Regions from separate parts of the Homo sapiens genome. Here all the other regions are linked to region 1. The links are contacts of gene promoters, found by promoter capture Hi-C in blood cells and fetal thymus (Javierre and others, 2016). All regions are on one chromosome and are shown on one strand. The core of a region is centred on a gene start or on the middle of the fragment in contact, and the rest is flanking DNA. Distances in the headings are between cores, read along the strand shown. Region 1 holds the start of SCG5 (secretogranin V). Region 2 overlaps FMN1 (formin 1). Region 3 overlaps FMN1 (formin 1). Region 4 overlaps FMN1 (formin 1). Region 5 overlaps FMN1 (formin 1).

Evidence for each region. The method cuts DNA at HindIII sites, captures the fragments that hold promoters and counts their contacts. A CHiCAGO score of 5 or more calls a contact.
Region 2: a contact is called between a fragment that was not itself captured here and the fragment with the promoter of SCG5 in region 1, in 7 of 17 cell types (M2 macrophages, M0 macrophages, M1 macrophages and 4 more). The highest score is 17.7, in M2 macrophages.
Region 3: a contact is called between a fragment that was not itself captured here and the fragment with the promoter of SCG5 in region 1, in 6 of 17 cell types (M0 macrophages, M1 macrophages, M2 macrophages and 3 more). The highest score is 16.7, in M0 macrophages.
Region 4: a fragment that was not itself captured here is called in contact with the fragment with the promoter of SCG5 in region 1 in 7 of 17 cell types (M2 macrophages, M0 macrophages, M1 macrophages and 4 more); the score reaches 14.7 in M2 macrophages.
Region 5: a contact is called between a fragment that was not itself captured here and the fragment with the promoter of SCG5 in region 1, in 2 of 17 cell types (M1 macrophages and M0 macrophages). The highest score is 6.6, in M1 macrophages.

What each region holds. Positions count from the first base shown.
Region 1 is chr15:32,640,316-32,643,069 of GRCh38, forward strand. It overlaps SCG5 (secretogranin V), which reads left to right and starts at 1,395. Exons shown (of 6, transcript NM_001144757.3): 1 at 1,395-1,463. All of the region lies in intron 9 of ARHGAP11A-SCG5 (ARHGAP11A-SCG5 readthrough), which reads left to right. RefSeq lists enhancers at 888-1,528, 1,529-2,167. The HindIII fragment of the contact is 7,166 bases long and covers 1-2,754 here.
Region 2 is chr15:32,990,964-32,993,717 of GRCh38, forward strand. All of the region lies in intron 7 of FMN1 (formin 1), which reads right to left. Among named protein-coding and RNA genes, the nearest start is that of FMN1, 200 kb to the right of the region's middle. The HindIII fragment of the contact is 4,209 bases long and covers 1-2,754 here.
Region 3 is chr15:32,965,069-32,967,822 of GRCh38, forward strand. All of the region lies in intron 8 of FMN1 (formin 1), which reads right to left. Among named protein-coding and RNA genes, the nearest start is that of FMN1, 230 kb to the right of the region's middle. The HindIII fragment of the contact is 4,024 bases long and covers 1-2,754 here.
Region 4 is chr15:32,940,785-32,943,538 of GRCh38, forward strand. The region is part of intron 9 of FMN1 (formin 1); the gene reads right to left. Among named protein-coding and RNA genes, the nearest start is that of GREM1-AS1, 220 kb to the left of the region's middle. The HindIII fragment of the contact is 4,431 bases long and covers 1-2,754 here.
Region 5 is chr15:32,914,593-32,917,346 of GRCh38, forward strand. All of the region lies in intron 10 of FMN1 (formin 1), which reads right to left. Among named protein-coding and RNA genes, the nearest start is that of GREM1-AS1, 200 kb to the left of the region's middle. The HindIII fragment of the contact is 4,132 bases long and covers 1-2,754 here.

The DNA of each region.
Region 1 (2,754 bases), core at 145-2,644:
GGATTTCACCATATTGGCCAGGCTGATCTCGAACTCCTGACCTTGTGATCCTCCCACCTTGGCCTCCCAAAGTGTTGGGATTATGGGCGTGAGCCACTGCACCTAACCTCTGTGATCTCTTAAATATATATGAAGTTTTATTTTTGAAACACCAAATTTCAAATGAAGCATAGGCATTTTGATCTATTTCAGTTAAATTTAACACAAAAGCAGTAAATTGTAGTGACTTCATTTTTTTCAACCACAAAATGAAGATAACAATGAACAAAGCTAAAGTAAAACTCAGAATTGAAAAAAGTCTCTGTGCATCAATAATAAATACTAACTCCAGCATGGCCAGTGAGCCTAGAGCCATTTAATGGATAGTGTTTGTCCTGTTGATTTAGCATGCATTGAAACAAGAAGCAAGAAGCAGATGAGCATCCGTGAAAGAAAAAGTACTGGGAAAGAGGCTTGGCTTCAAAATGAAAGGCCATGTGTCTCATAAATGAATTTTGCCAGCCTCTATTTATTGCATAAAAATTGCTGTAGATGATAATGGATTTGCTCTCTAGAGCTAAGATAAATAGATCTGGATTCTAACCTCATCAGGTTACTTGTTTTGAGACCCCCAGGTTCTTTACTCATCCTCCATCTTGATCAAATTTGTAGTGCCATATTTATTGTATGGCTTTACATTTTGATTTTAGTATTTGAACAAATTTCAGTGTTCAAGATTGCACATAGTAGGTGCTCCATAAACCCTTATTTAAGAATCTGGGACTACCTGGACATACTTCTACAGTATGCTGGGAGTATGGTTTCTCTTCAGGCCAAAGTGGAATTTTACTTGATGGTTTGTGTGGACGTTTAGAAATAACACTCAGAGCTGATATTTCTACAGATTTTCAAGTTTATCACTTTAATGGAAGTTTCTGGCTTCTTGTATTAAATATCCCCATAGTTTTCCTGATTAGTAAGAGGCCCCTCAGAGCAGGGTATACCTTATCATAGCCACCATTAAAAGTTCTTAGGACTTCATCTTTTGTCTCTCTACCATTCATTGCCTCTTCCCTCTTGAAGCTGAAAGGCTTTAGACACAAAAACAAAAAACATATTCTAGAAGTTGACAAAATTAAAGGTGTGCTGTAGTGGTGATCTGGCACGTTGTAATTGAGACTGAGGAGGTGAATGACTTACATGGAGGTCGATGGAGCTGAAGAGGGTCTCTAGGAAATGTCATAGTCAAGAGGTTTGTATGCAGAATGTGGGGGTTGAAGAGCTGTGCGGCTCCTGGTGAGAGGCACACTTATCTGGGATGCAGTCTGGGGAGTCCTGGCGAGGCAGCTTCCACCTGCTGGAGGAGGGGCCGGGGCGGAGCTAAGATGCGGAGGAGGGTGACGCACTAGCTCTCCAGTTCGCCCGTTCCTGGCCTGACCCCCACCAAGGCCCATACCGCAGTAGGCTCCTCGGGCTGCCCCTCGGTGAGTACAGTTTTGATGTCGGCTCGGCCGCCTGCCGCCAACCCGAGATTTGGTATTGCCAGTTGTGGGAGGGCGTCCTGCTAAAATCCTTGAGGTGGAGGCTGGGGTCAGACGAAGGATGCGTAGGGGATTAGAATGTTTGGCTATCAGTAAGGGGAAGGGAGTACTGAGGGAGGAGATTGTGTAGTTCATCAAATCAGAGCGGCGTTTGCTGGGATGACATCCTGCATTCAGAGTGGACAAGGGAAAGATGGAGATGGAGAGCCTCGTGTCTGCCTCCAGCCTTTTCCATCAGAATTGCAGATTTTGCTGTTAAACAGCTACTCTCAGCTCTTTGGAGAGCAAGGTTTTATATCTAGTGGCTAGAAAAGGCCTTTTCTTTGCAGAAAAAGAAATTGGAGGGTATAAAAATTTTTGTTTCAGTAAAGGAAATGCACGATTTTGCCTCCTCCCACCTCTCCATCCCCCATCCTCAGTAGAAGAATGATTAGAAGGAGGGTTTGCGCCGGTCCTGGTGGCTCACGCCTGTAATCCTAGCGCTTTGGGAGGCTGAGGGGAGGGGGTGGATCACCTGAGGTCAGGAGTTCGAGACCAGCCTGACCAATATGGTGAAACCCTGCCTCTATTAAAAATACAAAAATTAGCCGGGTTTGGTTGTGGGCGCCTGTAATTCCAGCTACTCGGGAGGCTGAGGCAGGAGAATCACTTGAACCTGGGAGGTGGAGGTTGCAGTGAGTCGAGATGGCGCCACTGCACTCCAGCCTGGGCAACAAGAGTGAAACTCCGTCTCAAAAAAAAAAAAAAAAAAAAAAAAAAAGGGTTTGCAAGGCCGCTGCCTGAAGCATGCATCCAAACACGTTAAGCAGCTGTGGGGTAAGCTGCAAGGATAATGTTCACTTGTTTTGCAGACATACCCATAGAAACCAACATTTTGGACAGGTTGACCCTCCCACCCCCAGGCTAGTTAACTCCCTCTCACCACCACTGCCTCCCCATATTCTAACCTCCAGAACTGTTAAGGCAATGTTAGCAACATAATAATAGCAATATAGGGGCTCATTCTGTGCCTGGCATTGTCCTAAACACTCTTAACATGTATTTGCACACACCCTCACAACAACCCTAAAAGGTAAATGCTTTAATTATCTCCGTTTTGCAGAGGAGGAAACTGAGGGACTTGCCTACGATCACTCAGCATGTGGCTGAGCAAACAAACCTCAAACTACCCCAGCAGATTGCAGGGCTGGATCTAAGGAACATTTTCCTTCCTTTCAGGATCGCAAACGTATTG
Region 2 (2,754 bases), core at 75-2,574, 350 kb after region 1:
ATTATGGGAACTGCAATTCGAGATTTGGGCGGGGACACAGCCAAACCATAGCAGCAACCAAACGAGAAAAGAGCAGAAGCAGCAGTAGATGATATCAAAGAGAACAGGTGAAGAAACACCAGCCACCTGCCTTTCTTTTCCTATGCATAAGGCCAAACCTAACAACCAAGCAAAGAAATAAAGGCATTTATAGCCCATAGACAAAGGCCCTCATTCTTTATTTTCTCTCGGTTTCAGAAGAAATGCCACCTCTTTCTTCCCAGAATCTCCTGGGTCCCTGATTTCGCTGTCTTCTACATTCTCAGGAATACTTTCTCATCAACTTATTCCTTCTGGCCAGCTCCCTGCTTTACCTATTTAGATCTCTTGCTGGAAATGCTGGACTGCTCAGGCTGTTTCCTGCACCATCTACATCTACTGCATATTGATTCTCATATGCTGCATAGTAACTTGACAAATATTACCCTACATGATCTAAACAACACTGTGGTGAAGGTAGGAGCCCCAAATTCTGGACCATCGAAAATCACAATCTAGGGAGCATCAGGGCTGTGATTCAAAGCTGAGTCTTCTGCTGCAGCCTCGTGTTCTTTCTCCTCTGCAGGGCTGTCTCTTGATGCTGGTCAAGATGCAGGCAGTAGACTGTTTCTATCTAAACATTACAAACGACTTGGCTTGCTGTCAGACACCTAACTTTAAATGGCTAAAATCGCTTGATAAATGGTGTGAAAATTTTATGGTCCTTCCGTCAGACACCGTAATTTATTATCACATAATGCACAGTTAGAAGAACCAAAAGAAACCATCCCACAAGGGCAAACAATGTGGAGGCAGTGGCCCTTTGACACTCAAAGGCCACAGGCATTATATGGATCCAATAAGAGAGCTGCTTCTACGAACAAGAGAACAACCTCTTGATCTTGCAAAATATTTTTGGACACCTAAAGGCTCTTTTATTACTGTGGCTGATTAAAATGAAAAGTTTAAACGACTAAAATGTTCTTTTTGATGAGTTTTTACCATGAACTATAGACCTTGTAGTCCAGGGGGATTCAAGCCCTTTGATCCTGCGTACTCACATAAATTCAGAGTCATAAAACAACATTGGATTTGATTTTACTAGTGTAGCTGATGTTGCCAGATTTGTAATGCAATCTTGTTTTCTCCCCTCCTTGTTTTTGAGCCCATCCACCATTGTTTTATAGCAAAAGGAAAGGAGTTTCCATTTGGTTTTGGCAATCCAGTTTCAAGACTGAGCCACTTTTCTAGAACGTTGGAATTTTACAGAAAAATAATGGTCCTGTATTGTATCCATCAAAACGGGAATCAATGTTAGTTTTGCATGCTGAAAATAAAGTATCAAAAAGAAAACCCTCTTCTCATTATAATAATCACAGATTTTCATTACTTAAGATGGTTAGAGGATGATGTGGTTGAGAACAATAGTATAAGTATGAAGTAGAAAAACTGGTGTGATTTAGTGTTTATAAATTTCCCTCAGGACTAACTGAAAATAAATTAGAAATATCAAAAGATGCCCAATTTATTCATCAATGGCAGATTATAGATCATATCTTAGTTTACAAACTTAAGAAAAAGGACTGGTATCTGTGGGAGAAATAAAGAAAATGTTCGATAAGACATATGTTTAACAAAAAGACATGCAGTAAATATAACTTAGATGTTTAATTCACTTTCTTCTAATATCCTAATCATTTTCCTGTGTGTATGTGCAATATCATATTCCTATAACTCCTAAGACATGAAATTTTTACTATAAAGGGTCTATGAGGGAATAAGAAGACAATTTTATTAAATCTATGTTATAAAGACCATAACAATCAATAGTGGGTCATAAAAATCGTTCATTTTTACGGAGTAAAATATCAGTTTGGGCTCAGAGAGATCAATGTATATTTAGCCTATTCACTAGACCAAGTAATACTAATTTAACAGTTTTCACTAACTTTATTTTTCATGGATTGCCTGAAAGATGAAACATTTCTCGCCAAGATTGTTCTGTAAGTGACACAGGACATAAGGGTCATGTGATACTTCAACAATTCTAATTGGAAAAGAGTCACCATGTAAGGGATGCTTCATTCTCCTAGGGACAATGCCTTGTGACATTTTCAGCTGCAGTCTCTTAACACCTGCTGAGGCCCCAGTGAACATTTCAGAATACGATTCATTCAGAGAAATATCATTCCAATACACATTCACTTCCTTGCCATTTGGTATGAATATATTACATTAAGCCATATAAAATTGCTGCTTTATAAGTCAAATAGGTCAAATATCAGCAATTTAATGCAGTTCAACTTATAAACTTCATTTAGCAAATTTGAAAATTATCATTGTTCTATGTTTTCTCAGTTAATCCTTTAAATTATGTCTAAAGGATCTATTTGCCATAGATAAGGGTCATGCCATATATAGTTTTAAAACAAAACAAACAGAACTGTGTTATACAGACACCTACTGCAGCTTTCAAAGACAGTACAAGAAACTGCCCCCTGTCTACAGAGACAAGTAATTGTTCTGGTGGTGTGTATATCAAATTAAGATAAGAGAAGTGTATCCAGTTAACAAGAGCTTTCTCATTTCATGCTCAAAAGGGTAGTGTGTTGTCAGCACCTTCTTCCTCCCTATTAATTCATTCAAGAATTATTTATTGTATATTTACCATGTTCCAGAGGGAGAATCAAGCTGTACACATTTACAGACAAGCAACAATGACAGTTTTCATGGTTC
Region 3 (2,754 bases), core at 89-2,588, 320 kb after region 1:
AAATGTTTACTTTCTTATCTTAATTTCAAACACTATTAATGTTTACTGGTCAGGCATGGTAGCTCACACCTGTAATCCAAGCACTTTGGGAGGCTGAGGTGGGCAGATCACTTGGGGTCAGGAGTTCAAGACCAGCCTGGCCAACATGGTGAAACCCCATCTCTACTAAAAAATACAAAAAATTAGCTGGGCGTGGTGGTGGGTGCCTGTAATCCTAGCTACTTGGGAGGCTGAGGCAGGAGAATTGCTTGAACCCGGGAGGCAGAGGTTGCGATGAACTGAGATTGTGCCACTGCACTCCAGCCTGGGTAACAGAACAAGAGTCCATCTCAAAAATAATAATAATAATAAATACTATCAATGCCCACAAATTTCATCTATATACTTATTGTTTATCAAACATAGGTATATGTTACAATCCATAACATCTAAAAGTATATAGCTTTATTTCCATACCTATTTTCTCAATGAAAACTAAAAAGATAACTATTATTACATGGAATGGTCCACAGAATTTTGTAATACTACAGGTGATTTTGGTATTTAAAACAGTTGGCAGCCCTGGCTCCTCAGGTCTGCGTGTTCACACTTTGCAATAGATCTGCCTTTCCCATGATATATGACATTTTGGTTTTGGCCACATTCACCTCTTCTCTCCTCTACTTTTTATTTTTTAAATTATGATTTCGCCAATAGTTGAACCATGTAATAGTATGACATATGGAAGTTATAAAGTATAACAATAGAATGAACACCTGGGAAACCATTACCCAACCCAAGGGCTAGAACATTTCCAGTGAAGTACATCCATGTATGTGTTCCTCTCTCAGCCATACCCCTCTGCTACTCACTTAACTTCAACTTGAAGCATAAGCACCACGGATGTTAAGTGCTTATCTCTGTGGTGCTGGGGGAGACGGGGGAGAAGTAGGATCTTGAAGAAGGAAGTCAGCTGGGAATTCTGGAGTGAGCATGCGGCATGTTAAGGGCCACTGGTCTGGGCCTTGGGAAGGTTCTGGGCAGCTAAGGGGTGACGTCTAGAGTGAAGTGATGCAGAGTGTCAGGCCAACTGCTCAGCCCCATCCCCACTTCCTGCACCTGCTTGGCTCTAGCCCCACGGACTCTGAGGTCAGGCCAGTGTAACTAGTATTATAATTCACTTATATTCTGGAGTAAATTGGCTTTGGGAGTCAACCGTGATCAGTTTAAGCACCTGATCACCATTTACAACACTATTTCTATGGGAAAGGTATTTCCAATACTGAATGAAAGAATTTTGGAACACTGCCTCTCAGTGATTTTGGGACAGCCAGCATTTGGTAGGGCAATAATAAGGACGTGCTTCCCAACGAATGACCTGCCATGGTGGTCAACTGACCACTGAACATACAATTCTAGCTCAAAAGGAAGGCAGGGGGAGAGAGAGAGAAAGAGGAGGAGGAAAATGAGAAACTTACTAAGAAGCTGAAAAGGTAGTTAGATGAGGATTTATTTTTCCTTAAGTGTCTCTTGCTTATTCTAGAAATCACGAAAGAGACACCCAAGAAGGCAAAACGTCAAAAGAAAAAAAATCAGTTCATACCAGGAGTCAAAAGCAATTTAGGTAGATGAGAGGCAGTGTACACATAATGCTGAAAATTCACATTTTGTTTCTGGCTTCCCAGAAGAGCAAGACCAACATTTATGATGCAATCATTATATAAACTACTTAATCCTCTAGTTGCACAAAATATTAAAATATGATTTTGCCTCCTTTATGAGAAGGTATCCCAAATAATTGCACTTTTGCTCCTAAGCAAATACTCCACAGGCTCTTTGAGTCATTTTCATTTAAAAGCAGTAGTGCTAATAGGTACAAAAAGTTGGAGGGACCCATAATAAAAGAACTTGAATATGTGGTACCACCAGGAAGTGCCCGTGTTGCAGTCTTAACACATCATAGAGGGGCAGCCCCCCGTGTTATGTTTCAGGTTCAAATGCGCACCAAGCAGGGCTCTCTTGATGTCCTATTCATCTACTTTTCATTTTGCTCAAAAGTAAAGCCCTAGATTTATGATGAAACCAGTGAGACCTTCAGTATTCAATTGCTTTTCTTCTCAAAACGGCCAACTAAATGAGGAGGAAACAATGTAGACAATGATTGTCTCCAGCTTTCCCGTGGTCGTGGGTGAAGGGCCCACATCTCCCAGTGGGACTCTTTGATGGCTGCTGTGGTCCACAGTTACCTGTTGCTCATGAAGTCTCTCAGGGAAGGAAGTGAAGGCAGGCTAGTGGGACACAGGTGTGGAACAGCTCCCCGTGCTGTCGGACACACTCGTCCAGGGCTTACAGGTGGGAGCTATTGCCCTGGAATGGCTGTGCACTAATTTGAGAACACTAATACGGAAACATGACTCAAAATAAATATTCTGGGAAATGATTTTTTAGGAAATGTCTGAGTCTTTATTGGGAAAAAGGGAATACTAGTACTTTAGTTAATGGCAGAAGCTATTACAGGATCATCTCACTTTTTTATGAACCATTCATTTGGGAAATTACAAAGTATAATTGAATTTTGTAAAAAAGAAGTATCAGGATGTTCCAAAAACAAACTCTTGGCCCTTATTTTTTGGTGAGAGGAAAGGGGAAAATATGAAGCACATATGCTTAGTTTTAGGGTATTCCCCACTCCTCCACAGGGATTTCTGGTTGTTTTATCATTGTGAGTTGTGTGTTATTTTGTTTCATATCCTGCCTTGCCTAAGCAAAGTGTTA
Region 4 (2,754 bases), core at 186-2,685, 300 kb after region 1:
CTGGGTGTCCAAACAGAAAGGACTCTTACCATTCTTCATGGCCACTAGGGTAAAGGTTCTTCCGGGCATTAAGACCCAATAGCAGCAGAGGCTTTCACAAAACCATGAGGTCAGTTTATCACATTTGATTGTTAGACGTTAGTGGGATTCCTGACTGTATTAGCATCCAGCTTCATCATATTAAAAGGAGTTAGTTAGCTTGCCTTAGGTAAATAACAAAGGAAAGGTTCCCCAAAAGCCCCGGCCCACAGGTTAGTGCCTTATCCCCACGTAACATAAAAAGCAGCCTGCGAAAAAAATCAAGCTGCAGGAACCAATAATATGAATGTCAAAATAATTATTTTCCATGTTTACGTGAAGCCAGTAGATAGAATTTATGCTTTAAGCTCCCAACTTGATTTTATTCCATGTAGGTTCTTGGGGGGAAAAGTGGCTACTACAGGCTGTTCAGGAAAGATAGTTCAGAAAACATTTACTGGAGAGTGTAAGTATTTGTAAGATTTTGCTTATCCAATGTTACTCTGGTTGAATTGGATTTTGGAGTCATTTAACACTTAGCACTGAAGAAACCTACAAATTTCATCTAATTTATCCCTCTGCCTTTGGGTTGGCCCAGAAGTCCACGTATGTAAGTATAGACCTTACTTTACAAGAATGTGCACACTTCATTATAAAGGTTACATTTAGATAATGCACACATTTATAGCCATTTTCTCTCAAACAATACAACAGAGCACTACTTCAGCTAATTGTAAATACAAATTAAACTGTTCATTCCACTCCTAGTCTATGATCCCTTATCATACTCACTTTTCATTCTTCTTTGTCCTCATATGCATATTACCTGATGTGTAATAATCCTCCAAGTCATTTTCTAGTATTAAGAGACTTTTGGCAGTGAACTATTTTACCTGATGTTTGGCTCAAATTCCTCATGCTCCCATTTTGAACCATCTTTTTCTGCTCTCAGGGAAGGTAGGAAACAGCTGGTCACCATCCCCTACACTAAGCTCCTTCAGAAACCTCAAGATCACCATTTTTTTTTAAACAAGAGATGTTTTATATCAGATTGTTAAAAATCAGTTTTTGAGGGACGTTAGCAAGCCCTCACTTTATCTCCGCCCTATCTAGAGTCAGCTGAACTTGGCAGCACATGGCTTTCTCCTAGGTATAATTACAGTCTGGAGGAGAATGCAATTTGTGCAGCATTCCACTGACCTACAAGCTGACCTTGTGCAGGGGCAAATTCACAGGTTGCGTTAAACCCTATTAGACATGCCTAGTTTAAGGCAAAGCCTTTCCAGACCCCTGCCACATGCCAGGATTAGGGCATGTCACACGTGCGTACTATTACATCGCCTAAGGGACTCTCCCAATGCCTTCCAGAGTGGGAAAGGCAGGCCCACACTGTCTAAACCTGTACATTAAGCCAGTATAGACAAATTATTATTATTCCTCACATATGTGAATTTTTTTAAAGCCTGCCTCTGTGAATAAGAATTAAGACAAAAATGGGAAGACAGATTTGCTACACTGGGAAAATCATACCTTCAACCTCAGCTAGAAAAGTTCTGCCAGACAGGCTGAGAAAGAATTCTTGTCAGGTCCAGTGGGATTTTTACATCTACAGAAAATCTGTACACTGTATATCTTCGGCTTTCTGCCTGAGCTTGGCAGACAGGGCCAAAAATAAAAATAAATGGTTCTGAATAGACCACAAGTGCTGGAAGTCTGCTCAGCCAAGTGAGTTTGGCATAGCTACAAAATTAAGAGAAACACAGAAGCCCTCTTCTTCCATGGAGCCTTCCCTGTCTGAAAGGAAGATGATTAATTTCTACATCTACACCTTTGCTAGACACCAAACACATTCATACCTATACCAGATCGAGTGCATATTTTGCTCTTTGGCTTAAGTTTCACATTTGAACATACTCAGTTCCAGTCACAGGGTTTCCATCTCCAGCACAGTCAGTTTTATCCTAGAGCCTGGCAAATAAGCAGAGAGTTTTTTCAAATACAGCCACATGTGCTATCACCAATGAATAGCTGCTGGCACTTCAGGGAACTAAGGGCATGTGAAAGTTGCTGCTTTTCCTGTCTGAATCAACTATTTCACCCCACCAAAAACAAACAAATAAATGTAGAAACCATATATATATGAGTAGACATTTACTTTCATGACAATGATATACAGGTCGAGCATCCCAAATTCAAAACTCAAGAACTCCAAAATACGAAGTATTTCAAAATCCAGAACTTTTTCAGCGCTGGTACAGTGCTCAAGGAAAATGCTCAGTGGGGTATTTCAGGTCTTGGATTTTCAGATTTGGAATGCTCAACTGGAAAATTTGAAATCTGAAACGTTTCTGGTCTCAACCATTTCAGATAAGGGATACTCGACCTGTATACCAAATATCCACATAGGGTACACGGTCAGCTATATAGAACAAGTGTGTAAATGATCTGGCCTTTCTTGGTAAGATTGAACAACAGCGTGGAGAATTCACATAAATTAGACAATCTGATTCTCCCAAGTACAATTCTAAAAAATACAACTTCTATTTTTGTGCCATCAAACTAGTGTTATCTCTTGCTTATGCTTCACATCAATACTCGCTGAATTCCACCACCTGGCCAAACTATGGACATTAAGAGGCTGGTTGGTAAAAAGTAGATATGCTACTGATGACAAGTCAGCTTGTCTTAGTAACAGTCATCCCACTTCTAAGTCATGGGCTTCCAAATAGATAAAGG
Region 5 (2,754 bases), core at 116-2,615, 270 kb after region 1:
GACAAAATTATATTACACACACAAAAAGTCAAAATTTGAAAAGACTAATTTAGAATCTATTGTAATGGGCAAGAGGTAGCAAAAACTTGAATAGTGTGGACAGAAAGGATAGGGCAAAAAAGAAAGACACTACAGAGCACTATTATAGTGACATTGCTAACTAGCTCTGGGGACTTAGCCTGAAACCACTCTGAGGCTTTGAGCCTAGGTTTAGGGGAAGAGCTTTGTACCATCCCCCCAGAAACAGGCAGAGGAGTCTAAGAGGTGAGCATGACTACTGATCTGTCCCCCAGGGACTGGGAAAGGAATGGAGTAGAGAGGAAAGGACAGGTAAAAGAAGTAGATAAACAGATGAACTTAGGGCCAATGCCAAGTATTCCACTGAAGTTTCTCCTCTTCCACGGAAGGATCTTAAAAATAAAATCTAAAAAGTAAAAGAAAATTCAGAGGTAGCAGAAGCAATATCAAGAGATTGATACTGAGCCTAGAACTTATGGAGATTAAATTAGTTGTATTATTTCTAATAATATTGGCCTGGGAAGGTTAGGGTATCAGCCAGAAGTCTGAAAAATAAAAAGGCCTACCAAGTCCTAGGATGCCTAAGAGAACTGCCTTACATGTACATAATCCCATGTCTTAGTCACCAAATATAGTTTAGGTTCCTAGAGAGCCAGAATCCACACCTGATAATTCTATTCTCAAAATACTGGAACAACGTATTAGAGAATCAATGAATGCTCTCCGATTAAGTCATTCTTGCAAGCACTTACCATTAAACTTATTAGCCATTACATAAGCCCAATTAATTAGTTAACTAATTTGTAATCATAATGATCACAATGTGGAAAGAAGTCAGTCTTCAACTAAACTATTTTCGGCGTCACCCAAGATCAGATCGCTCCCTCCATTTTATACTTTGAAAACACTCACTTTCTGTCTCTGTCTCTTCCACGCATGTGTGTGCACACAGGCACACCGCTCATAAACTGAACCAACAAATACAAGCCTATGCAATTTTACAGCAAGCCTCAAAGCTCTGATACAGTAATTCCAAGTAATCCTACTTTTGTTTCCATCTGTATAGGTCTCATTATACTAACACTCCTGCAGATGGTGTCAGAAAGGTGAAGTGTCAAGTCCACAAAGGGGAGACCCCAACAGCTCATTGCTACTGCAATATCAATCACTGCTGGTGGTTTTTACTTTTATCTCCTTCCCTCCTTAGTTGTCCCACTCACACTGTCAGTTCGGTTAGAATATTTCACCTACACCTCACAATATGTCAAAAGGAAGTAGACACACGCTGTGAAAAGCTGGTAATTTTATTAGATTCCTTTACCTTTAAAAATCTGTTACTTGGTCAAGTCTGGTTTCTGGGCTTCTTTTTTGCAGGGAAATTGAGGCAAACATTTTTATGTGGTCCTCTGGTGCCTGCTCTGTACCACAAGAATTATATACACAAGGATCATTAGAGTAGTGTTTCGCCCATTAAGATATAATAACCGTCAGCAGGGACAAAAAGCAGATCAGTATCACAAATTCAAACTAACAGGCACACATAAAAACTATGTGCCTGCTTTAGGGCACATGCAAGGGGTCAGGGTCTCATACAACAGGGAAAATTCCCCCTCCGGGTAAGAGATGGCTTTTCACAAGACCAGGGTTAAGTAGAAAGAACATGCAGGATTCTCTCAGCTCTCCAGCCATTTTTCAACCCTGAACACTTCTCTCTCCAAGTGTACCATGCCCATATAAACAAAGAATGCACTTGCTGTTCGAAGGGCTTCTAATGAGTAAAAAGACAGGCAGAGTTATTTAAGGGAGTTGTTCTCTTTGACTGAGGGAGCACCTCTGAGCAAGAAGCATGGGACACGGTGGTGAGAAAGGCATACCTTGTATAGTCTGTTAAGATTAGCCAAAGTAAATCTGGTCATCCGAAGTGTGGGAGATGCCACAGGTAGGTAGGGTTGGGTTGGCTCACCAGGTTTCGGCTGACGGTGGTTTTGAGAATGATTTGTACGTAGCCTGTTTTATTCTTCTTTTTATTTCCTTAAGTGACTGATGTAAGCCTCTTGCACAAAGCGGGTATGTAATAATGTTTTGCAAATGGACTAGATATAGTCTGGTCCAGCCCAGGAAAGCAAAGTTTGATAGGATTACTTGACTCTATTAGCAGAAATTATTTTGTTTACAATGTTAACTCTGCAACAGCCAAAATAAAACTTAGCTGCTTTGCCCAAAATACTGGTATTTTTCAGAACTCGACAGAAATTCAATCAGTAAGAGAAAGAGAACAGAGCAGGGAAAGAAATATAGAAGGACTTGGTTTTTTGAAACTCTCATGTCACCTATATCCCACAAAACTCTGACAAACCTACTCCGTGACCTCTACAAAGGCAACGATAACATGGGGTTCATGGGAAGAGGCAGTAGTACAATCTGAGAGTTGAGGAAAGGGAAGGCAGAAACATCTTCCCACAGTTTTCCCTCCCAACAATGAGGTCATCCTTGAGAGCAAACACCAAGTCTATGAAAAAAACTGCAAGAAGTGGAAAGAAGGGGAGCCAGTAGAGAGGGGTGTGGAGCGTGGAAGGACCACTCGGAGGCAAGGCCAGGGGACCGTACAGATCTGCTCCCGCTGAAGAGCTCTGTAACAAGCCTCTTCAAAATGGTCATAGTTCTCCTACAACCTATACCTTGTGTTTCTCCTACTGGACACTAGGTTCCACCTCCAATAAGCACCAGGCCTACCTG